Regions from separate parts of the Homo sapiens genome. Here all the other regions are linked to region 7. The links are contacts of gene promoters, found by promoter capture Hi-C in blood cells and fetal thymus (Javierre and others, 2016). All regions are on one chromosome and are shown on one strand. The core of a region is centred on a gene start or on the middle of the fragment in contact, and the rest is flanking DNA. Distances in the headings are between cores, read along the strand shown.

The links. Contacts are between HindIII fragments. The CHiCAGO score rates a contact against its expected background, and 5 or more counts as called.
Region 1: a fragment that was not itself captured here is called in contact with the fragment with the promoter of SEL1L in region 7 in 4 of 17 cell types (naive CD4 T cells, naive CD8 T cells, non-activated CD4 T cells and 1 more); the score reaches 7.1 in naive CD4 T cells.
Region 2: a contact is called between a fragment that was not itself captured here and the fragment with the promoter of SEL1L in region 7, in 12 of 17 cell types (non-activated CD4 T cells, total CD8 T cells, total CD4 T cells and 9 more). The highest score is 13.2, in non-activated CD4 T cells.
Region 3: a contact is called between a fragment that was not itself captured here and the fragment with the promoter of SEL1L in region 7, in 3 of 17 cell types (naive CD8 T cells, neutrophils and naive CD4 T cells). The highest score is 6.2, in naive CD8 T cells.
Region 4: a fragment that was not itself captured here is called in contact with the fragment with the promoter of SEL1L in region 7 in 10 of 17 cell types (naive CD4 T cells, non-activated CD4 T cells, total CD4 T cells and 7 more); the score reaches 8.6 in naive CD4 T cells.
Region 5: a fragment that was not itself captured here is called in contact with the fragment with the promoter of SEL1L in region 7 in 5 of 17 cell types (activated CD4 T cells, total CD8 T cells, monocytes and 2 more); the score reaches 6.9 in activated CD4 T cells.
Region 6: a contact is called between a fragment that was not itself captured here and the fragment with the promoter of SEL1L in region 7, in 6 of 17 cell types (total CD8 T cells, total CD4 T cells, non-activated CD4 T cells and 3 more). The highest score is 7.1, in total CD8 T cells.

What each region holds. Positions count from the first base shown.
Region 1 is chr14:81,233,400-81,236,818 of GRCh38, forward strand. No RefSeq gene overlaps it. Among named protein-coding and RNA genes, the nearest start is that of GTF2A1-AS1, 14 kb to the left of the region's middle. RefSeq lists an enhancer at 1,974-2,133. The HindIII fragment of the contact is 4,433 bases long and covers 1-3,419 here.
Region 2 is chr14:81,214,523-81,217,707 of GRCh38, forward strand. It overlaps GTF2A1 (general transcription factor IIA subunit 1), which reads right to left. Exons shown (of 9, transcript NM_015859.4): 2 at 1,891-1,992. Among named protein-coding and RNA genes, the nearest start is that of GTF2A1, 4.8 kb to the right of the region's middle. The HindIII fragment of the contact is 2,914 bases long and covers 58-2,971 here.
Region 3 is chr14:81,260,154-81,263,475 of GRCh38, forward strand. It overlaps STON2 (stonin 2), which reads right to left. Exons shown (of 8, transcript NM_001394390.1): 8 at 499-3,322. It also overlaps the pseudogene UNGP3. Among named protein-coding and RNA genes, the nearest start is that of GTF2A1-AS1, 41 kb to the left of the region's middle. The HindIII fragment of the contact is 4,982 bases long and covers 1-3,322 here.
Region 4 is chr14:81,198,472-81,201,902 of GRCh38, forward strand. GTF2A1 (general transcription factor IIA subunit 1) reads right to left here. Exons shown (of 9, transcript NM_015859.4): 4 at 3,123-3,187. Among named protein-coding and RNA genes, the nearest start is that of SNORA79, 2.6 kb to the right of the region's middle. The HindIII fragment of the contact is 2,552 bases long and covers 288-2,839 here.
Region 5 is chr14:81,156,886-81,159,946 of GRCh38, forward strand. All of the region lies in intron 2 of TSHR-AS1 (TSHR antisense RNA 1), which reads right to left. Among named protein-coding and RNA genes, the nearest start is that of TSHR-AS1, 12 kb to the right of the region's middle. The HindIII fragment of the contact is 239 bases long and covers 1,492-1,730 here.
Region 6 is chr14:81,173,697-81,176,828 of GRCh38, forward strand. It overlaps GTF2A1 (general transcription factor IIA subunit 1), which reads right to left. Exons shown (of 9, transcript NM_015859.4): 9 at 1,756-3,132. Among named protein-coding and RNA genes, the nearest start is that of TSHR-AS1, 4.9 kb to the left of the region's middle. The HindIII fragment of the contact is 721 bases long and covers 984-1,704 here.
Region 7 is chr14:81,532,049-81,535,103 of GRCh38, forward strand. It overlaps SEL1L (SEL1L adaptor subunit of SYVN1 ubiquitin ligase), which reads right to left and starts at 1,805. Exons shown (of 21, transcript NM_005065.6): 1 at 1,627-1,805. The coding sequence starts at 1,696. RefSeq lists an enhancer at 1,593-2,092 and a silencer at 1,809-1,928. The HindIII fragment of the contact is 11,079 bases long and covers 1-3,055 here.

The DNA of each region.
Region 1 (3,419 bases), core at 305-2,804, 300 kb before region 7:
TGTAAGGAAGAAGGTTTAGGCTAAACTTGATTTAACAACATTATACTGATTGGACCTAGTGAGTGAGAAGTGGCAACTACTCTTAGACTTGTAAAACAGTTGTGTGTCCAAGAATGGGAGATAAACCTGACTAAAATTCAGAGGCCTTCTATCTCAATTAAATTTCTAGGGGTTCAGTTGTGTGAGGCATACTGAGATAGCCCTTCCAAAGTGAAGGATAAGTTGTTGCCTTTGGCCCCCCCTACAGCCAAGAAAGAATTGTAACCTCTAGTGGGCCTATTTAGATTTTAGGTGCAACCTATTCCTTATTTGGATTTGTTACTCTAGCCCATTTACCAAGTGACCCAAAAAGCTGCTAGTTTTGAGTAGGGCCCAGAACAGGAAAAGGCTCTGCAAGAGATCCATACTGCTGTGCAAGCTGCTTTGCCACTGGGGCCATATGATCCAGCCGATCCAGTATTGCCTGAAGTCTCAGTGGCAGACAGGAATGCTGATGGAGTCTTTGGAAGGCTCCTGTAGGTGAACTGCAGTGCAGCCCTTTAGGATTTTAGATCAGGACCCTGCCATTTTCTGCAGATAACTATTCTTCTTTTGAGAGACAGCTCTTGGCCTGTTACTGGGCCTTAGTAGAACCTGAGTGCTTGACCATGGGCTACCAATTACTGTGTGACCTGAGCTGCCCTTCATGAACTGGGCATTATTTGACCTGCCAAGCCATAAAGTTTAGTGTACACAGCAGCACTCCATCATCATGTTGGTCAGGCTGATCTCGAACTCCTGTTACTTTTGAACATCCTAGTCATTAATATATGGCTCTGAAAAGGGGGAAAAAAAGAAAAATAAATGGAGTAGGGGGTGCCAGCCCTTTTAATCCCCTGGAAGTTGCTTCAGCTGGAGGGGGAGGGGCATACAACAGTTGGGAGAGGTCAACAATGGCTACCTGCCTCTGTCTGCACCTTTGTGAATCAGAAACAGCAATCAGTGATTAAAGTCCAGATCCCTGATATTTGGAGGAAAGGGTCCTTTTTACTCACCCTGGCATCTGCAAGCTATATGAAAGCTGCTCCTGGAATGTGTGCATGGCTGCTTGCCAAAGGGCTGGGGGGTGGGGGATGGGTAGCTGCTACTGTGCTAAGCTAAAATTGACCAGAATTAACTGCAATTTACCATCCAAGCCTTCCCTGGAAGCTGCAAGCCTTCAACAGACACTAGAGTTTCAAAATAGGTAAGACAGATTCCCTCAGTGCAATTGTTGTCAAGTTGGGGAGACAGATTTCAGGTGCTCTCTACTCTGCTATCTTCCCAGAGTCCTCTCTTCTAATAATTTTTTGAAGGTGGTATTTATTAGAGACTATTTCCTAACTGTTGGAAAAATCCAACAGAAAATCAAAACATAATAGTACAAGAGAAAGTGCTTATTACAGACATCTGTCCTTGAGAAAGGCTGAAGATAGGCTTTAGAGGTGTTCATCTTTGCTAGGAACATCTTTTGCTTTTGTGTACTGTAAAAGGAGAAAAAAATGTGGGCAAAGAAAGTCAGAATTGAAATGAGAGAAAAGAATGTTAGAATGAGCTAGTAGATTTAGTGGGGAAAGAAAAGTAACTCCCTGGGATTGCTTTCACTTTTTCTATAGAATACAAGAGAAAGTTACCAGCTGAGAGTGAGGTGTAAAAGATACTAAGGGATTGTGAGAAGTTTGAGAAAAGAGGAGAACACCCAAAATAGCCATTTCTTGAGAGCAGAAGATCAAATGTATTAAATACGGGTATAAGTTTGTTATGTAGAATTGATTGCTCACTTGAGATTTGGAGTGAGAATCATCATGGCTGCATACTTTGATCTGTTAGTTACTTGTGGGAAAGCACAGACTAGGTGGGCGTTTAGGCTTAAGTAATGTGCAGACATCACTAACTGTCCCCAAATAGTCACATCCTCTTTTCTTTTAATAATAGAATGCCCTGAGTTTTAGCCAGTTGTCTTATTTCATTTGTGCTGCTACAACAAGATACCTGAGACTGGGTGACTTATAAAGAACAGAAACTTACTTTTCACAGTACTGAGGGCTGGGAGTCCAAGATTAAGGAGCTGATAGGTTCAGTGTCTGGTGAGAACCTGGACTCAGCTTCCAAGATAGCGTCTTCTGGAAGGGAAGAATGCCATGTCTTCACATGATGGAAGGAATGAAAGGGTTGGAAAAGAGTGAACTTTCCCCCTTCAAGTCTTTTATAAAGGCATTTATCCATTTATAAGGGCAGAGCCCTCATTATCTAAATAACTCCCCAAAGGCCCCACTTCCCAGCTGATCCAATAGGGTGCGAAATGTGATGTGTGCAACTCCTGAGTCATCTTCATAAAGAGGAGACCACTTGCCCTGATCTCAGTGAGTGACTATGATGATAGTCCATTGAATCTAAGGGGTTCAATGAGATGTGTGTCTTTGAAAGGGCAATAGATAATGAAAAAATAATAGACTCAGTGAATTGGAAGTTGTAATGAAATAAAATTTTGAAGTGAGATATTAGATAAATTGAGAGGTGACAACGTGCTAGCAGCCCTCGCTCTCCGTGCCTCCTCGGCCTCAGCGTCCACTCTGGCCATGCTCGAGGAGCCCTTCAGCCCGCCACTGCGCTGTGGGGGCCCCTCTCTGGACTAGCCGAGGCTGGAGCCGGCTCCCTCTGCTTGCAGGGAGATGTGAAGGGAGAGGCGCAGGCGGGAACCGGGGCTGCGCATGGTGCTCATGGGCCAGTGCCAGTTCTGGCCGGGCACGGGCTCAGCAGGCCCCACACTCAGAGCAGCCGGCTGGGGGCACCGGGCAGTGAGGGGCTTAGCACCTGGGCCAGCAGCTGTGGAGGGTGCGCCGGTTTCCCCAGCACTGCCGGCCAGCCCGTGCCGCCCTTGAATTCTCACCGGGCCTCAGCCACCTCCTGATGGGGCAGGGCTCGGGACCTGCAGCCCGCTATGCCCATGCACCACCCCCTGTGGGCTCCCACGTGGCCTGAGCCCCCCGCCACCCCCTGCTCTGTGGCACCCGGTCCCATTGACCACCCAAGGGCTGAGGAGTGTGGGTGCCTGGTGCGGGACTGGCGGGCAGCTCCACCAGCGTCCCAGGTGCAGGATCCACTAGGCGCAGGATCCGCTAGGGGAAGCCAGCTGGGCTCCTGAGTTGGGTGGGAAGTTCCAGAACTTTTATGTCTAGCTGGAGGATTGTATATGCACCAATCAGCACTGTGTATTTAGCTTGGGGTTTGTGGATACACCAATCAGCACTGTGTATCTAGCTAATCTGGTGGGGACTTGGAGAACTTTTATGTCTAGCTAAAGGATGGTAAATACACCAGTCAGCACTCTGTGTCTAGCTCAAGGTTTGTAAATGCACCAAACAGCACTCTGTGTCTAGCTCAAGGTTTGTAAACACACC
Region 2 (3,185 bases), core at 265-2,764, 320 kb before region 7:
GTAGTCCCAGCTACTTGGGAGGCTGAGGCAGGAGAATGGCATGAACCAGGGAGGCAAAGCTTGCAGTGAGCCAAGATAGCACCACTGCACTCCAGCCTGGGTGACAGAGCGAAACTCCGTCTCAAAAAAAAAAAAAAATTACTGAGACCCTCAAAGAGCTTTTCTGTATGTGAATTACATCCACCTATATTTATACTAATAGAAATTATAACAAATTTTTAATTTTCACTAATTTGTTTAGAAATAATGGATCCATTATATGTTAACATAAATAACATTTTTCTGAAAATAGCCATATTTTAGTAAATAAAATTGAGTGAGAATGACAAATGACTTAAAGGAAAATAGCTAGATTCTCGTATCTGACCCTGTTTTTGCTTTGTTTTGGTGGAGGTGTACAAAGAAAATCTGCCTTCCTACAATTAAGTAGTTGGGAAAAGAAAAGGTACTTTTAAGTGACAGTTTCTTAATAGTTAGTTACAATGCAGAATATGAAACCATATAACTGTGAACTTTTCATACTTTTAAAGTCCATTAATTTATCTTGCATTTTGAATGAATTTTCCAACATTATGCATTGGATATTCAGAAAATACAAGTTCAGTGAATTATATGGATCTTTCAACTGTAAACACACTTCATTACGGAATATCAAACAATCAAATTTCTTAATATCAACATTGAGTCCTCATCTTTTTAATATTCAGTTTGTCAGAAATGAGAAGTATACATAAAGCATTTCTGCTGCTTATTTACAGTTATCTCAAGGAAAAGCACCTGTGCACTTGAATTGTGAATTTAACTGGTCACTTTTCTCACAGAATACAACTTTTACTTGAAAGAATGACGGGCAAACTATGATTTTCCAGACTTAAGCATTTAGTCAACCTTGTGGACCCCCTGAAAGAACCCTTGGGGAGAATCCAGGGCTCCATGAACTATACCTTGAGAACCACTATTCTAATCAACAGGGCAAAAATATTCCACAATTTCATGAGTCATTACAATGCAAGGAAAACACAACTGCTAATAAAAAAAATCTAAATATTTCCACTTGAATCCAAGATACAGAAAACCAGCTCTCAATGTAAAATATATTCAAAACATTCGGCCTACATAAAGGGTCTACTTCAAGAACCTAAAATTCTTTTATCAAGCACTTAATCCCTACAACTTAAAACACACTTTAGAATACAGGTACATTAAGACCATTAAAAAAAGATAAGATTAAGGCTGGGCGCTGTGGCTCACACCCATAATCCTATCACTTTGGGAGGCCGAGGCGGGAGGATCACTTGCAGCCAGGAGTTCGAAAGCAGCCTTGACAACATGGTGAAAACCATCTCTACCAAAAATACAAAAATTAGCCAGGCATGCTGGCATGTGCCTGTAGTCCCAGGGGTGGGAGGATGGTTTGAGTCTGGGAGGCAGAGGTTGCAGTAAGTCCAGATTGTGCCACTGCACTCCAGCCTGGGCGACAGAGCCCGACCCTGTCTCAAAAATAAAAAACGAAAAAAGAAAGCAACAAAATTCTTCCAGACATGTCAAGTAATTAGACCATAAAATGTAGAATGTTAACTATCCAATAATAACTGCTAATGCTACTATCAAGCATTGTGCTAAGATTTTATATGGTTATTCCATTTAATCCTCAAAACAAACCTATAAGGTAAGTACTACCAATTTCCATCTTACGTATAAGAAAACTGAAATATAAATGTAGCTTGCCTAAGGTCAGAGGAAGAATGCATGGCAGAGTTGGGATTTAAAACCAGCACACTTCACTCAACTATACGTTCATCCTATAGAAAAATTACAGATTCATCTCCGGCTAAAGAAAATGTTTTGTGGGGGAAAAGTAGGAATATTTTAAAAAAAAGACAAACTCACAGTTTTTAGTTCCATCAGTACTTGTTCATCCACTCCATCATCCAGAAAGATGTCTCTCACATCATTAATGACATCTTCAATCACAGATCTGTATAATTTAGGCTTTAAAGGAAAAATAAAAGACTTGAAAAAGACAGTTTTTCACAGCTTATAATGTATAACAGGTTTTCACAAATTCAAAACGAATAGTCATTTTGCCAACTATCTATATATGACTTTAAAGATACGACCACCATCATTTGCCATAAACTGGATTTGATGACTGCACACTTTAATAAAAATTTTAAGATTAATGCAGTTCATAAACAGAAGGCCCCTAAGACTACAAGGTCCATACAATTTCCAATTATAATTTCCTATGTTGTAGTCAAAATACCTAATGTAATGTTCAATAATAGCTTTACGGGTTGCTTATGTCTGGCTTCTACTATTCCATGCTTGGTTTGAACTCTGTTGTATGTCTTACTACCTCACCACTGTATCTTAGACTTTGGAGAATCTTATGTCCGGGAGTCATCTGCCTGGTAATAATCTGCAACCTAATGAACATTCAGGTTTAAAAATCACCTAACTTCTGTTGTGTGACCCAGTCTGTACTTTCAAGCTGTACCATTAAACTACTCATACACTCACAATGGCAGGTCTTAAGGTCCCAAGGAACAAGGTATACTGATTTCCTTCCCAGGATTTCTCCTCTACTACTGCCCAGGTAATGCTATGAAACATTATAATGAACATGAACCCTCTAAATGTTTACTATTATTATTACAATTAGCACCGTTGATACTACTTGGAGGAGCGGGAAGTAAAGAAGCTGGCTTCTAGAAGGTTGAATGGTAAAATGAGTAAAATGAGAATAGATGTGAAAGAACTTTCAAAAAGTATAAAATATTTTTTAAAAACTACAAAGTGGGAGATAGAACAATTAGCCCAATCCACATCCTATTTTTTCCCCCACATCCTATTTTTAACCTGTTAGACAAAAGGAAGTCATGTCAGATGACAAAACTAGAGCTGCCTTGACAAAACTAGAGTTGCCTGGTTATAAATCCTCCCCATTATCAGAGGGTTATGGTTAACAAGCTTTTTAGATGTTTTCTCATTACTTCTGTTTCATACCTTGCTTAAGGTTAATCGCTATCAAATAAAACCAATTTTGGGAGGATCGCTTGAGCTCAAGAGTTCAAGACCAGCCTGGGTAACATAGTGAAACCCAATCTCCACAAAAAATTAGCCAGGAGTGGTGGCACGTGCCTGTAGTCCCAGCTGCTTGGGAGGCTGAGGTGGGAGGATGG
Region 3 (3,322 bases), core at 617-3,116, 270 kb before region 7:
GTTCGTTTTATAGAATACAGTTTTCCGAACTCTCCATTGAGGTGTTTCTTCCAACTCTCACCAAACACCACAGGTACGCTGTGGGCACGACATCGGCTCACTGCAACCTCCGCCTCCCAGGTTCAAGCGATTCTCCTGCCTCGACCTCCTGAGTAGCTGGGATTACAGGTATGCACCACCACACTCGGCTAATTTTGTATTTTTAGTAGAGATGGGGTTTCACCATGTTGGCCAGGATTATCTCGATCTCTTGACCTCGTGATCCACCCACTTCAGCCTCCCAAAGTGCTGGGATTACAGGCATGAGCCACTGGGTCCAGCCAACCTATCTTGAATTGACTAAATTATATCTATGACAAATTTAACTAGGATAATTAAACAGGTCATTTGTTAATTTGTCAGCTTATGATCACTAACCATACAAGCTGGGTGACTGGCCTTATATTAATAAGCATTACTCTTCATATGTCTGACTTCATTAAATTTGGCATAGTGATATTTTGTTCAAAAATTTTTTATTAATAATTCATTTTCATAGCTCAGAAAAGGATATAATCAGTAGAACAACTAAAAACAAAACCTCACCTCTACAGAGATAGCCAGTGTGTAGACTTTATTACATAGGCACATATTAAAAAAAAAAAAACATAAACTGGTTTTACATAAAATTAACCACAATAGTGCAAGAGGTTACACTGAATGAGAATGGATGATGAATGATGGAAAATGTAAGGCTTGGAACAGCTGAATCATTCACTGGATCTTGGGTTCATCCATCCTGACGCACTGAAATTTATTACAGACATTACAAGAATGGAGGGTGAGGAATGGTGCTTCTCTGTCATCGCCTGGCTAAAACACTGATTTTGATTAATCTCTTGAATACGGTAGTTTTCTCCAGGTTCTCTTGTTAAGTAGACATAAAAGTTAAATGAATGCTGGCTTAAGGTCAGAGGAGTTCATATCCTTCTCTTCCCTCACCCCTATACTTTAGAACTCTCACACCCAACAATTTGCTGTTGGGACCTGACTATACATCTGCTTTCCCACAATGCTCTGGTAGAATACCACTGGGGTTGCTGATCCAAAGCACATGGAGGCGCAACAGTGCTTAAGGCTTCAGTCATGGTGTGGGGCTAGACAGCATCCCCAACTAGAATTGAGGGTTTGATCTGTGGGGTAACACGAGCAAGCAGGAAGAGGATGCTGGAATTCCTTACTCTGTCCAGTTGGAATCAATCCAACACATCTGACTACCACAAATACAACCAGAAAAGAAACTAAAATTACACACTCAAACATACCATGAAAGAGATGCTATTTTGTAGCTTGTACATAGTTTAAAATTTTTTTAACTACAATTTGATGTTACTAAGAGACAACGAGGATACAGAGGGGACTGTCCCTTTTCTCTCATCTGGTTTTGCCATAACTTACAAATAGTCCCAGGATGTTTACTGAGTGTCCTCCTTCAATTTTCACAATATTTTATACAAAATGACAAATATATATATACCTCATTGATTATCCTATCATCCCCAGTACTTGGAGGGTTAGACCTACTTCTGTGTCAGGTAGCACCCAAATCCTAACATCTATTTTGGAGACCTGTCTGTGCCTCTTCATGCTCACACCATTGTTCTGATAGATGATGCCAGTGGAACTTCCAAAGAAGCATTCCACCTGATCTTCACCACCCTCTTTGATCCTCTTTTTAAATCTGTGTGTGGAAGGCAACTGCAATATAGAGGATTTGGAAGGTTGTCTGTTTCTGTTGTCTGGGGAAATGATAAAAAAAAAAAAAAAAAAGAGAGAGATGTGAAAAGGAAAAAGATGGACCAGGTGATTTTTCCAATCTTCAAAATTTAAATTTCTTGGTTCTTATAAACATAGGAAGAGTCACTGAAAGGTGGCACCAATGGATATTTTGTAAAATAACCCACAACTTTAGAGCTGGAAAGGACTTGAAGAAACAATTAATCCAACTTCCTCACTTTTTTGTCTCAGGAAACTGAAGCCCAATTGGGAAAACAGCAACTTACTTAACATAGTGATTGTCTCCATGGCTATGTCCTGTAAAGATTCACAGAAACCCCAATTTCCCCTTAATAAATCCATTATGGCATGCCTATGAGTGACTTTAAATAAACAATCCTCAATGTCCTCGTGTCTAGCCTTTCCTCCCTTTAGGGAAGCTGGCTGCTAACACAGCACCTGACCAGAGTAGACATTTGATAAATATTTGTTGAGTTGAATTAATCCTGCCATCTATCCCTTTTTACTATGCAATCTTTATTTTTCCTGGAGCTTCTTACTTTTAACTTTAAGAGATGGCTTCTAGTTCAAGTATTTTGAGGCTTGGTACCCAATGCTGATTTGTCATCTCTCTAGATTTTACTTTTTCATATTGAAATTCTTTTTTTAGTCTATTCTCTTGTAGCTTTTGTTACATCCAATGATCATTTGCCTCTCTCCAGGCACTACCAAACTCATTACTGTGGATAGTTTCTGCCTTTACAGGCTTAGAATTGACAAATTGAGAGACACATTTTTTTTTCAATTCTCAAAACAACTAGACTCTTTCCAGCAGATTTGCTAAGGCACACTAGAAGAAATGTAAAAATCTCACATTCTTGTTCTAGTTAATACATGGGAGAATATTACTAATACATACATTTGTTTTCTACATTTGTGGTTGCCTTATACATCTCCTTCACGTTTAATTCCTTAAACACATAAATATGAGTCATGATATCTAAAGCCAGTCTCATTTAAACAAGATAAGAAATGGTTTGTGGGGAATTAGCACTTAGACCTTGGTAATGTTTAGAAATCATCTTTAGAAACTTGGTGAGAATGCCCTAATTTTATGTAAAGGGTCGTCATGGTTTGAATGGGACTTAGTAGTAAAGTGTGTGAGACAGTGCATTTACCAAATGATATTTTTTTGTGGATTTAATTTTTTGTTAGTTTTGCTTGAAATTCCTGTTAAATTGCATTCTGGACATGACCTAAGGCTAGCTTGTCCAACCCTTGGCCCATGATGGTTTTGAATGTGGCCCAAGACAAATTCGTAAACTTTCTTAAAACATTATGCTATTTTGGCCAGGCGCGGCGGCTCATGCCTGTTATCCTAGCACTCTGGGAGGCTAAGGCGGGTGGATCACCTGAGCTCAGAAGTTCAAGACCAGCTGGCCAACATAATGAAATCCCATCTCTACTAAAAATACAAAAATTAGTCAGGCGTGGTGGCACATGCCTGTAGTCCCAGCTACTCGGGAGGTTGAGGCAGGAGAATCACTTGAACCCGGGAGGCGGAGGT
Region 4 (3,431 bases), core at 314-2,813, 330 kb before region 7:
ACACTTAAGTTATAAAGATATAGACGGGATTATATTATGAATTTCTTTAAATCCAGGACAAATTCTTGACTTCCTGGAGAGTTCTGGAGAGTTTTCTCCTCCTGTCCTCCCGCAAAGAATTATGCCATTCTCTGGTTTTTTATTCTGCACTTTAAGTATTTTCCTGTATCCCGCTATAGCTACACATTTTGGTAGTTTTTTCCCTCTCTTTTCAATCTTCTTTAGCTACCAACCATTCATACATTCAATCTAACCTATACAGTTTTAGAACTACCCATATCTGAAAAAGCTTAAAAAAATAAATATAACTGCTTTGGAAATGCTAGTGTCAGAGAAGTCAACAAACTTAGAAAATTATTAAACTGAGTTAATAGTTCAACTACTGTCTAGTCTGGGCTCTAGGTACATAGCTTTCCAAGAAAATACACTTGTTGCCACTTGACAAACCTAAGTAATTTCTACATCTTGGGCCTGAAATTCCCACTGTGTCTCCAGAATTTAACTATAGCCCACCCGGGTGATTCGTATTTAAGTTGGATACTCAATTACCCAATTTAAAATAAAACTTGGCTATATAAGCAAATTAAAGGTTATCTAAGTTTAAGGAAAATATTAACCACCACATACTATTAAGAAATATTTAAAAAGAAAAAAACAAAAATATTTAGAAATATTAAGTGCCTATAATTCATATTTTGAAAGACAGCAATTCTCCCTCTACCAGCAAACTGACATAGTAGTTTCCATATAGAATACACGACCCAATAACTACCTGCACACCCTCCACAAATTCAAGCTGCATAACATATATTTGCTGAGTCATGTACCATACACTAACCACCTTATACTTAATAACTATTAAAATTTCTTCTTGTATTCCACAAAACAGCCCAAACACAAATAATGCATTAGACCAATCATTTCATAAAAAAGAACCGAAAACAATGGTTTTCTAGAAGTTCCCTGAAATAGCCTTCTACTATATTATCTCACGTTTTTATGATTAGTTCATTTCTAATGCAAACAGAGCCATTAGAAAGAACAAATATATTTTTGCTATTTCTAAATCAGAATAATGCAAACCCACAAAAACCTAAAACACTTTTATTGGTACAGAGCCTATACTGATTATGTTCAGAAATACATGAAGGAAACACTGACTAAAAACAACAAAGTAAAATGTAAAATATACAGAAATGTTAAATCAATTTTCCTGAGTAACTGACCTATGATTTGTTTAAATACATATGCTCTTTAGAATAAAGGAGACTTAACCAGTAAGTAAGAGATGGACCACTAATTTTTATCCCAGAAATAACTTACTAATTCAAAATTCTCTTCCACAACATTTAAAATTCTTTTAGAGGGGCCTACCACAAGAGACTCTGCCAAAATTTGTTTTAAAATAATGTGAGTTATTCCCTAGGATATAGTCTTAATAACATCAACTACAATAAGCAACATATAGTGAGACTTTTTTTTTTTTAAGGGTGGAGGTTAAAAAAAATTGGGGCCTTAGACTTAAAATGGAGTTTTTTCCAATAAAAAATCTTGTGAGAAATAACAGGCATGAAATTTTTTATTTTCATGTAAACGAAAAGATTCTAGAAACTGCAACTACAAGTACAAACAGAGATCCTCGATATTTGTGAATTTAAAAACTGCAATTTCTACTATCATGTAGAAACTTTCAATTCTGCCACAGTATGAATTTGTGAGGCTGGTAATGTGTAGGAGGAAGTCATCTGTCTAGTGGGTAAGCCCTTCTTATCTGGCTTATAAACCACAAATGAACTTTGTGATTCAGTATCACTCACAAAGTAGAACTCATCTTTTCATACACTGCTTTTTGGTTTAAAAAAAAACTTGAGGCTGGGCGTGGTGGCTCACACCTGTAATCCTAACACTTCAGGAGGCCGAGGTGGGCAGATCGCTTGAGGTGAGGAGTTGGGCGACCAGCCTGGCCAACATGGTGAAACCCTGTCTCTACTAAAAGTACAAAAAAATTAGCCAGGTGTGGTGACATACACCTGTACTCCCAGCTACTCAGGAGGCTGAGGTGGGAGGATCACTTGAACCTAGGAGGCGGAGGTTGCAGTTAGCCAAGATCACACCACTGCACTCCAGCCTGGGTGACAGGGTAAGACTCCATCTTCAAAAAAAAAAAAAAACTTGAACGGAGGGAAAAAAAAATCTCATTTCTAGTACTAACTAGTTACATAGGTTAAAAGATCTTTTTACAAATATTGATTCTTTCACCTTTAAATAAAAGTTTTGGCTGAAGAATGAAATGTAAGAGCTGAGTCACCACTCAATGAAATCAACAGTCTGTATATTTTAAACAGAATAAAGAAAAACCATTTATAAGGAAGTATTGAACTACTCTAATCTGACTATATTTTAATGTTTTATCCAAAAAAAAAAAAAAAACAAAAAACAACTTCAAGGATATAGGTAAAGATTTTCTAAGGATCTGAAGAGGTTCTTTCAAGTTTACAGTTAACCTATACTACATTTGTTGAGAAATATTATATGTCTGAAATGTAATTTGAAAATATGAGTGAGGACTTGTAAAGTTTAGTGGATAGTCCTCAGAAATATAAAAATTCTAATATAACTCAGCTGGTTAAAATGTATTCTGTGGTAATTTACACACTATAATGACTTATTAGACTATACTATGGTTAAGTCAGAGTAATATTTTTAAATGCTTGATTTTAAAAATAGTTATACTGAACTATCCAGTCTATCTTCATTTTTTAAAAGTTCACAATTCTTAGCCTTCCCACCCTCTTGCAATTACTAGGTCTCCTGAAACAGAACCATACTTGGCATTATAAGCTTGGTAGGTACCCTAAAACTTTTTCGGAAATAGTAGGGAATGGAATAACTCTCACAAAGCACCATTCTTTTGGTATTCTTAAACAATTCCGTAATTTTATGAACCTTAATGTCTAGGTACCAAGCTAAACTTCAGATCCAATATTCAGGAAACTAAAACAGCTGTTTTGCTTGAGTCTTCAATAAACTTCAAGTAGTTAATATAGGACATATATAGGCATAATTACAATGTGGGTTAGAATTAAGTACAGCCAATCAAACTGCTACATTCTGAGTCTTACCATGTTTGATGCATTCATATGCTGTATCAACTTAGAATCTGGAACAATAACTTGTGGTGCTGTGGCTACAAAAAAACAAGCGAACATGCAAACAAGGAACCATGAGGCTATTTTATAATCACAAGAACACTTTACATACAATGATGAAAACTTTTTTCATGTTTTTCATGTTTTCTGCACTCAAATGCTTTCAATCATTTCATCTCAGGACATTATAAATGTATATGGCAAATAACAGCTGTGATATACCCACCCTATACTAGAAAACATTAAAAAATATTTAAGCCCAGGCGTGGTGGCTCACACCTG
Region 5 (3,061 bases), core at 361-2,860, 380 kb before region 7:
CTAATATACTAGTTTATTTATCATGTTATAATAAACATAATGGGACATAAGCTCCACAAAGGCAGACATTTTTGTCAGTTATATTCACTGGTGCATCCCAAGAGCCTAGAACAATCCCTGGCACATAGTATGTGCTCAATAAATACGTGCTGGATTTGAATTGAATTTCTGATATATTATTTTTCATGTCTATGAAATGTTTAATTGATGCTGAGCCCTTAAAAATGTATCCTCCCCCAAACCAAACATCATATGTTCTCACTTATAAGTGGGAGCTAAGCTATGAGGATGAAAGGCATAATAATGATATAATGAACTTTGGGGACTCAGGGGGAAGGGTTGGGAGGTGGGTGAGGGATTAAAGAGTACACACCAGGTACAGTGTACACTGCTTGAGTGACGGGTACACAAAGATCTCAGAAATCATCACTAAACAACTTTCCCATGAAATCACCACTAAACAACTTTTCCATGCAACCAAACACTACCTGTTCCCCAAAAACTATTGAAATTTTAAAAAAAATGTGTCCTCTCAAATATAATAGCTTACCCCTGGTAGAGCATGAACATTTGACAATTTTCTGTTTTATGATATAGTCATCCTCTGTAGTTAAAAATTAGACATGGCCTTATATAAATTCTTACCGATCATTAAAAAAGAGTCCACTGTCCATCATTTTCTCTGTAAGAAGCCTATTCATTGAGTCATCTATCTTACAGTAAGGAAGCACTTGTGGTTACAAGCTAAAAACTCCTGCAATTCAGTAAAACTCAGTCTCAACTTCCCATTTAAAAGCCCAGAGAACTAGTCATCTACATGCAAGAAAGTGTTTGAATTGAGCATTTGTTTGACTTGTATTCATTTATTGAGTACCTTCTGCAAGCAGAGCATATACATCAGAATTTTTTTAACTGTGTCCCAGACTTTAAAAAAACTTTGAATCTAGAGAGGAAGATATATGTGTCACCACAGTATAAAAATTATTACAGTTTCTGAATGTTACTACAGAGCAGTGTTACTCCATAGAAATCTATCCTAAGCAAAAAGAACAAAGCTGGAGGCATCACACTACCTGACTTCAAATTACACTGCAAGGCTATTATAACCAAAACAGCATAGTACTGGTACATACATAGACACATAGATCAATGGAACAAAATAGAGAATCCAGAAATGAAGCCACATACCAACAATCCAACTTATCTTCAATAATGCTAACAAGAAGTTACACTGGGCAGAGGACTCTCTTTTCAATAAATGGTGCAGGAAAAATTGGATAACCACATGTGGAAGAATGAAACTTGGCCCCTATCTCTCACCCTATAAAAAAAAATTAACTCAAGAAGGATTAAAGACTTAAACATAAAACCTGAAACCATAAAAATCCTAGAAGAACACCTAAGAAAAACTCTTCTAGATATTGGCCTACGCAAAGAATTCATGACTAAGACGTAACAAAAACAGAAAAATGAAACTTAATTAAACTAAAAAGCTTCTGCACAACAAAAGAAATAATCAACAGAGTAAACAGTCTACAGAAAGGGAGAAAATATTTGCAAACTATGCATCCAACAAAGGACTGATACCCAGAACCTACAAGGAAAAACTTAATAAGAAAAAAAGCACTTGTATTACAAACCAAAAACCCCTGCCATTCACCAAAACTCAGTGTCAACTTTCCATTTAAAAGCTCAGAGGTCATTCACATGCAAGAAAAACTGTTAAATTAAGCTTTTTCATTTTTTTTTCTTTTTGTTTTTTGTTTTTGTTTTTTTTTTTTTTGAGACAAGGACTCATTCTGTCACCCACCGCAACCTCCACCTCCCAAGTTTAAGCAATCCTCCCACCTCAACCTCCTGAGTAGCTGGGACTACAGGAGAGCACCATCATGCCCAGCTAATTTTTTGTACTTTTTTGTAGAATGGGGTTTCGCCATGTTGCCCAGGCTGGTCTCAGAACTCCTCGACTCAAGCGATCCGTCCGCAGCAGCCTCTCAAAGTGCTGGAATTACCAGCATAAGCAACCATGGCCTGCCTGAACTGAGCTTTTGTTTGGCTCAGTTCAACAAGAAAAAAACAAATAACTCCATTTAAAAGTGGGCAAAGGATGGCCAGAGACGGTGGCTCACGCCTGTAATCCCAGCACTTTGGGAGACCGAGGCAGGTGGATCACCTGAGGTCGGGAGTTCAAGACCAGCCTCGCCAATATGGTGAAACCCCGTCTCTACTAAAAATACAAAATTAGCCGGGCGTGATGGTGCACATCTGTAATCCCAGCTGCTCCGGAGGCTGAGGCAGGAGAATCTCTTAGAACCTAGGAGGTGGAGATTGCAGTGAGCCAAGATCACACCACTGCACTCCAACCTGGGCAACAAAGGAAGACGCTGTCTCAAAAAAAAAAAAAAGAAAAGAAAAGAAAAGTGGGCAAAGGACATAAACAATGAACAGACATTTCTTCAGACATACAAGCAACCAACAAACATGAAAAATGTTCAACATCACTAATCATCAGAGAAATGCAAATTAAAGCCACAATGAGATACCATCTCACACCAGTCATAATGGCTATTAATTAAAAAATCAAAAAACAGCTGATGTTGCCAAGGATGTGGAGAAAAACAAACGCTTATACATTGTTGGTGGGAATACAGAAAAAGTATGGAGATGTCTCAAAGAACTAAAAGTAGAACTACCATTTGACCCACCAATCCCACTGAGTACCTACTCAAAGGAATAGAAATCATTCTATCAAAAAGATGCCTGCACTCTGTGTTTATCACAGCACTGTTCACAATAGCAAAGGCATGGAATCACCCTAACTGTCCATCAACAAATGATTGGAGAAAGAAAATATGGTATACATGCATCATGGAATACTATGCTGCCCTAAAAAAGAATAAAAGCAGGTCTTTTGCAGCAATATGGATGGAGCCGGAGGCCACCATCCTAAGTGAAATAACTCAGAAACAGAAAGTCAAATATTACATGTTCTCACTTATAAGTGGGAGCTAAACAAGGGGTACACATGGACATATAGTGGGAAATAATAGATACTGGGGAG
Region 6 (3,132 bases), core at 94-2,593, 360 kb before region 7:
GTATTTGCGGAATACATGAATGACACAAAATATAATGGGCTTAAATGTAACAAACTCCTTTATGTTCGAAGATAATCAGCCAACCACAATTGTGATGCTGGTATTACAAGTATTGCTATTTTGGTAATTCACTGAAGATTTTTGAATAGGATATTGAATGTCTAATGGGAAGAAGGGGCTAATTGGGAAGGCAAAAGACTCCTACAAGGGAAAGGTGATATCTTAAGACACACTTTGCATGAATAATGCTTTTCTTTCTTGGTTGCAAACAACAGAAACAGACTTATTTTAAGCAGAAAAGGGATTGGAAGGGTACAGTAGTTTGCAGCCAAAGTCTGCTTAGGAGGTTGCCAATAGCACTCTTGCCCCAGTCAATATCACACCACCAGACCTGAACATATATAGGACCTCTGACTGATCCTGCAACTTTGTTTCATGCTCTTAAGACTCAAAGTCCTGAGTGTAAGCATCAGTCTGACCACCTCAGATTTTGGTCCCTGTTTCTGGATCCAGTGACAGGTGACTTCTTACTTGCTATTCTACTTCCATAAAGAGGTATATATTACCCTCCATTCTTCTTGGCATGAAGCAAAATAGGAAGGGTATTCTGACACTGAGAAGCCAAAACAACAAATGTCCCTTGTACATCCCTGCTGAAAGTGAACAGCTCTAAAGAGCTTTACTCTCAGCCGGGCGCAGTGGCTCAAGCCTGTAATCCTAGCACTTTGGGAGGCCAACGCGGGTGGATCATGAGGTCAGGAGATCGAGACCATCCTAACATGATGAAACCCCGTCTCTACTAAAAATACAAAAACAAAATTAGGAAGGCGTGGTGGCGGGAACCTGTAGTCCCAGTTAACTTGGGAGGCTGAGCCGGAAGAATGGTGTGAACCCGGGAGGCGGAGCTTGCAGTGAGCTGAGATGGTGCCGCTGCACTCCAGCCTGGGCAACAGAGCGAGACTCTTGTCTCTAAAAACAAAAAAAGCTTTACTCTCTTCATCTCTTGCAACTAACCTGGGTGAACTTTAGTTTTCCTGGCCCTATTTGCCCCACTCAGCAATGCCACCCTAACCTATGCATCATTAGCATGGAGGTCCTGTCAACACAGAGAAGTCAATGTACTCTTTTTCAAAGTGGAGGAGACATTGTGAGAATCAGAGTGATGTATCCGTATCTTCAATGTTTGACAACTCTGTTTTGCTCCTTAAATGAACTGGACAGACTCCATTCATATTTGGAAAAGTCCATTTTTAAAATGATAGTTCTATCATAGTTTTAGCTTTGAGAAAATTCAACTTATTTAGACATATAATTTAGGATTTTTTTGGCGGGGGGAGAGAGGGAGCTTAAAGGCCCTCCCACTGTTTGATTATCCCTCTCCCATACCCAGCACTCAATTTTCTTCCCTCTGACACTTTCTGCTGTAGCCAGATGCATTGTTTCACCAACTTACCCTCCCAGGATTGTTTGGTTATAATGAACTCTTTCACTGGTTCTCAATTTGTTTTTGCTATTTTTGACCATTAATTTTTTCCGGTTCAAGAATAATTTTAAACTATGCAAATAAGTATGAAATTAAGCATATAATTGTGACATCTGAGTGCTGACTGTGTACCAGGCACCAGCCTAAGAGCTTTACATGCATCACACCTCATTTCATCCTCAAAATCTTGTCATTTTACAGCTGGAGAAACAAAAGCCAAAAGCTTAAGCTTAATCAAAGTAGGGGCTTGAATTAAACTGCAAAATACAAGATTTGCTGGCAATAAATAAGATATCTTTATTATGATTATGTTAATAGTTAAAATTTGCATGTTTTCTAGATAGTCTGTTAACAGGATAAAAAAATACAAAAAGGCGAGCTTCTTAATGATTCAGCTGAATTAACTATAAAATTAAAATACCTGCTAATTATTATCTTCTAAAATAACACAAAATATATTCAATACGCAATACAAACCTCAGTAATCCAATTCTCCTAATATGCAATTATTTATAACCTCTGAACTAAGAGGAAGTGGTTTGACTAAACAGAGAAATAACAATGTTTTTATCCTAAGTAATCTATACTTTGGAGTAGAAATACTTATTTAATACAATATGTTAATTATTAATATTTCACAAGGAGTAATCTTTATTTTGAAAAACAATGTTAATTATACCAATTTTTAGTTATAATTTGTTAGTGTGAATTCGCCCAACCTAAATTCCTGTGTGCCTGGAAAATACAACTTTTTAAAAGCTAGTATTAATCATTTGTAACACAGTTTACTAATTCAAATTGACATCTCAATCTACTTATCTTTAAGGTACAGAATTTAGCATCTTTTTGTTGTTGTTAAATGGAATTCTCATTAACAATGTAAAGCATTTTCCTTTCTAAATTGTATTTTATTCAATTATCTATAACAATGCCATATACTAGTAAGCAAAGCAAGCAACATTTTTTTTTAAATAACATCTTTAATTAAAGTTTTTGCAAAGTAGAATATTAAACTTAAAATAGGTCTTAGTACATCAAAATACTAAGTTCTCTAATTGTATTCCAAGATGGTCTTTAAAACATAATATCCCATATATCACAGAAGAGCAACCTTGATCTGCAATGAATTTTACAAACATAATAAATATATTTACGCCATTACACATAACAGTATGTACAACAGCAGTTGACAATAGTAGCTCAGAACAGCAAAAAGGATTAGCCCCGCCCCCCAAGTCATAGTCCTGATGTAGACTGGACTGATTAAGGAACCTTGACTGAAAGAGTAGTTACTAACTCAATGTGTAGTAACTTCCCTTAAAAGAGAAAAGTTTTTTTGTTCCTCAAAATAAACAAAAATGTTAGTTTGGTGTGTTCTTCATTAAACCATAGACAATGACAAAAGACAAGAGTAAGGCAGGCTTAAAAAGGGAACAATATAAACTTCGTAATAATTTTCATAGCATAATAGAGGACTAAAATGCAAAGCTATTTAACAAACTCATGAGGAAACAAGTAAAGCAACTATTTTTTAACTAAAGAATTCAAAATCTGCTATAGCTGATTCTGACAGGTAGGTGAGAGAAAGACATGAAATAAAATGAAAATGTACAAAGATGGATCAACAAACTATTACATTGCACAAAAGC
Region 7 (3,055 bases), core at 555-3,054:
TATCAGTGTTAAGTCTTTTATTACAACATCCTGAAAGCCCCAACTGTTGATCTTCAAATATCTTTTCCACTGGCATGGAGCTCTAAGTATATAAAATGCAGTCAAAGACAGACAGCACAATTCCTATGCTTTAATTTTCTTTAAACTCTGCCAATTAAATTCAGAGGGATACACACCGTGCTCTTTCATTACTGTAGTTCTCTTTAGTGTGAAGAATCCCTCATGGAGATTGTTAATCTATGTATACCTGAGCTGTTCCAGACCTAAAACCCAATGTTTAACAAACCCATAAGAGGAATTCTGATGCAGGAGGTCCATGGTCCAGCAGGTACTCTACTCATTAAGCTCAACAGCTTCATTTCATGCTTTTTGATCAAATATTAAATAACTGCTAAAAGTGCTTCGAGAGTTAAGTATAGTCTAAAGATCTGGTCATTAACTCAAACCATCACTACTACTGGAGGGAGGGGAGTGGACCTGAAAGAATGATGTTGGCAGTAAAGTAATTAGCATAGGGTTGGTGCTTTTGAAATGGTATCTCAAACCACATCATGGATAGAATTTAGGTTTAAGCCTCTTATTTTAGAAGCAGAATGACGTTATGGCATTGATTTACAACTAGGACAGGTAATTTGGGGATTCAGATAACCATCTGGGAAATTTTCTGTTAAAAAAAAGCTGACATTTATTAAAAAAAGAAAAAGCTGACATTTATACTCCGTGTTGTCCCCCCAAAACGTCAAGCCACAGAACACCTGTCCTGTTAACTGAAACTGATTAAAATTCCAAAGTTTTACTGTACTAATTTTTATTTATCAACACTTAGAAACACGAAGTTTTCATGAACACTCTCAAAATGGAAATTTTCAAATGTAGGCAGATTAAAACATTAAAAAAGGGGGAAAAAAGCAGAACCAGAATAAACATTAGCTAACTGGAAAATCAATTCAAAAGCACACAAATTTCTGTATCTATATAAAACGCATCTTATAAGAACCAAGATTTTCCCAAACATCATAAAATGACTGTCAACAAACATGGGGCAACTCAGAAACACTGTGACAGGTCACCGCTTTCTCAGGAAGGTTTCAAAAAAGTAAAAAGTGGCTACGATGAGATCAAAAGTCTTCGTTTTTAAACAGACAGACCAGGGACCATCTCAGGTGTTAAGCAAACTACTGTCAACATCCTGGTCTGGATGGATCCTCCTCTGCCCCAAAGTGACAGCTCCAGGTTTGTCAATTATTTAACTTACAATTCCCAAGCCCAGAGTTCTAGACCAGACCCTTCCTCTACCCCAGGGTCGAGGAAGCTCCACTCGGGCTCCTGTATCAGGATTCATTCCTTTGGAGTCAATTCCGCGTTCGTGAGAAGAGTCGCGCAAAGTTTGTTACGTGGGAGAGAGGTGTGGGCAGGGTGACCGCCCCTTCTTTTTCCACCCCACTCCACCTTCCTAAATAGCCCCTTTGGCGCAGGCCAAGCAAAGCCAAAGAGCGAGTGACAGCCCAGTGCGAGATGTGCCCAGGGAGAACGGGGTCCCGAGCCTGGAGTCCCCACGGCCCCGCCGGCTGTAGAGGCTGGGGGGCGGAGGCTCTGGGCCTTCAGCCCGAGGGGGCGGATACTGACCCGAGGACGCCGAGGCCAAGCTCAGCAGCACCGCACACAGCAGCAGCGTCAGCCCTATCCGGACCCGCATCCTCCTCTCGGGGCCGGTGCCAACCCCTAGAGCTGTCGCCTTCGCCTCTGCCACCACGGACTCAGCCACCACCGCCGCCTCGCCGCTGCTCTTCCTGCTCTAGTCTCCTTCCTCCGCCCCTTCCCAGGCTTCCCTGACCCAGCGCGCAGCCAATCCCCGCCCGCCGTCGCGGGCTTCTGGTCCAATCACCATGGTCTCCCCGCCCACCCCCATTGCTCCGCCCCGGGGGTCATTCATTGGCCAATCATTGTACGAAGCTCCCACACCAGCTTTCTCGGTTGGACCACGACTCACGGACATGGCCCCAGCTAATTGGTAGCCCCTGGGTTCAACCGGAATCAGCGCGTGAGTCCAAGACTGGGAGAAAGAGGCTCATCCGAGACTACAATTCCCAGAATGCGCTTCATGTGATTAACTCGGGGGGTGCTCTTGGGAAACGTAGTCCATCGTAGGGCAAGATTTACAAGTGCGGGTGACTGTTGAAGTTAGAATTTAACTAACACCTGGGCTAAATATTAACTCAAGGCTATGGATTCACAAGCCTTTTTAAATTGACCCAAAATAAATATTAAGGAATAATTTTAAGAACTTGTAATGTGTTTAGCATCTTTTCCTGTTTTATTTAAAAAATTTAAATTGGGCATAGTGATAAGAGCACTGAGAAAAATGCCACAGCTAGTTGAATTTGAGGTGTTTTTTAAAACTTAGATAAAACAGTACCGTGAAGTACGGAAACCAGGGTGCAACTCAGTACCTGTCCTCCTTTCTCCGACAAAACAAAAGGAAATAAATCCGCTCGGCACAGATTATCTCAATACAGTATTTATTTTCACTAGGTTCACCAGACAATAATCATAAAGAAAATGTGCCAACAGCTTTGAAAAATTATTTTAAACACTTGTCCTCATCCTTCTCCTCTTGTGAGTTGCATTGTTCTCTTCTTTCCTAACTAAAGTCAGGAGACCAGGTTCACGTGTGTGGAGGTAGAGGTGATAGTGATTGCATCGCAGGCACGGAAATACTCTATGTAATAAGCACGAAATCCAGGCATGTTCCAACTGAGTAGCAGAGCAGTGACTTGGTGTGCCTGCCCTTTCTTTTCTCAAACCGTGTCATTCTGCTTTCCCTGTCATCCACCCACAGTCAGCTCTAAGGCCTAGAACCTAGTCCAGCCAAGTGAAGGACTTTGGAAAAGTCTCTGCTGGCCATGTGTCTTAACACTTCTGGGCATTTGTCTTCCTTCCTTTTTTTTTTTGTTTTTTGTTTTTTGTTTTTTGAGATACAGCCTTTTATTTTCAGGAAGATGGTAAAAAACCAACCACTGTTTCTCATTCACATCGGAGGAGATGAAGGAAAGAA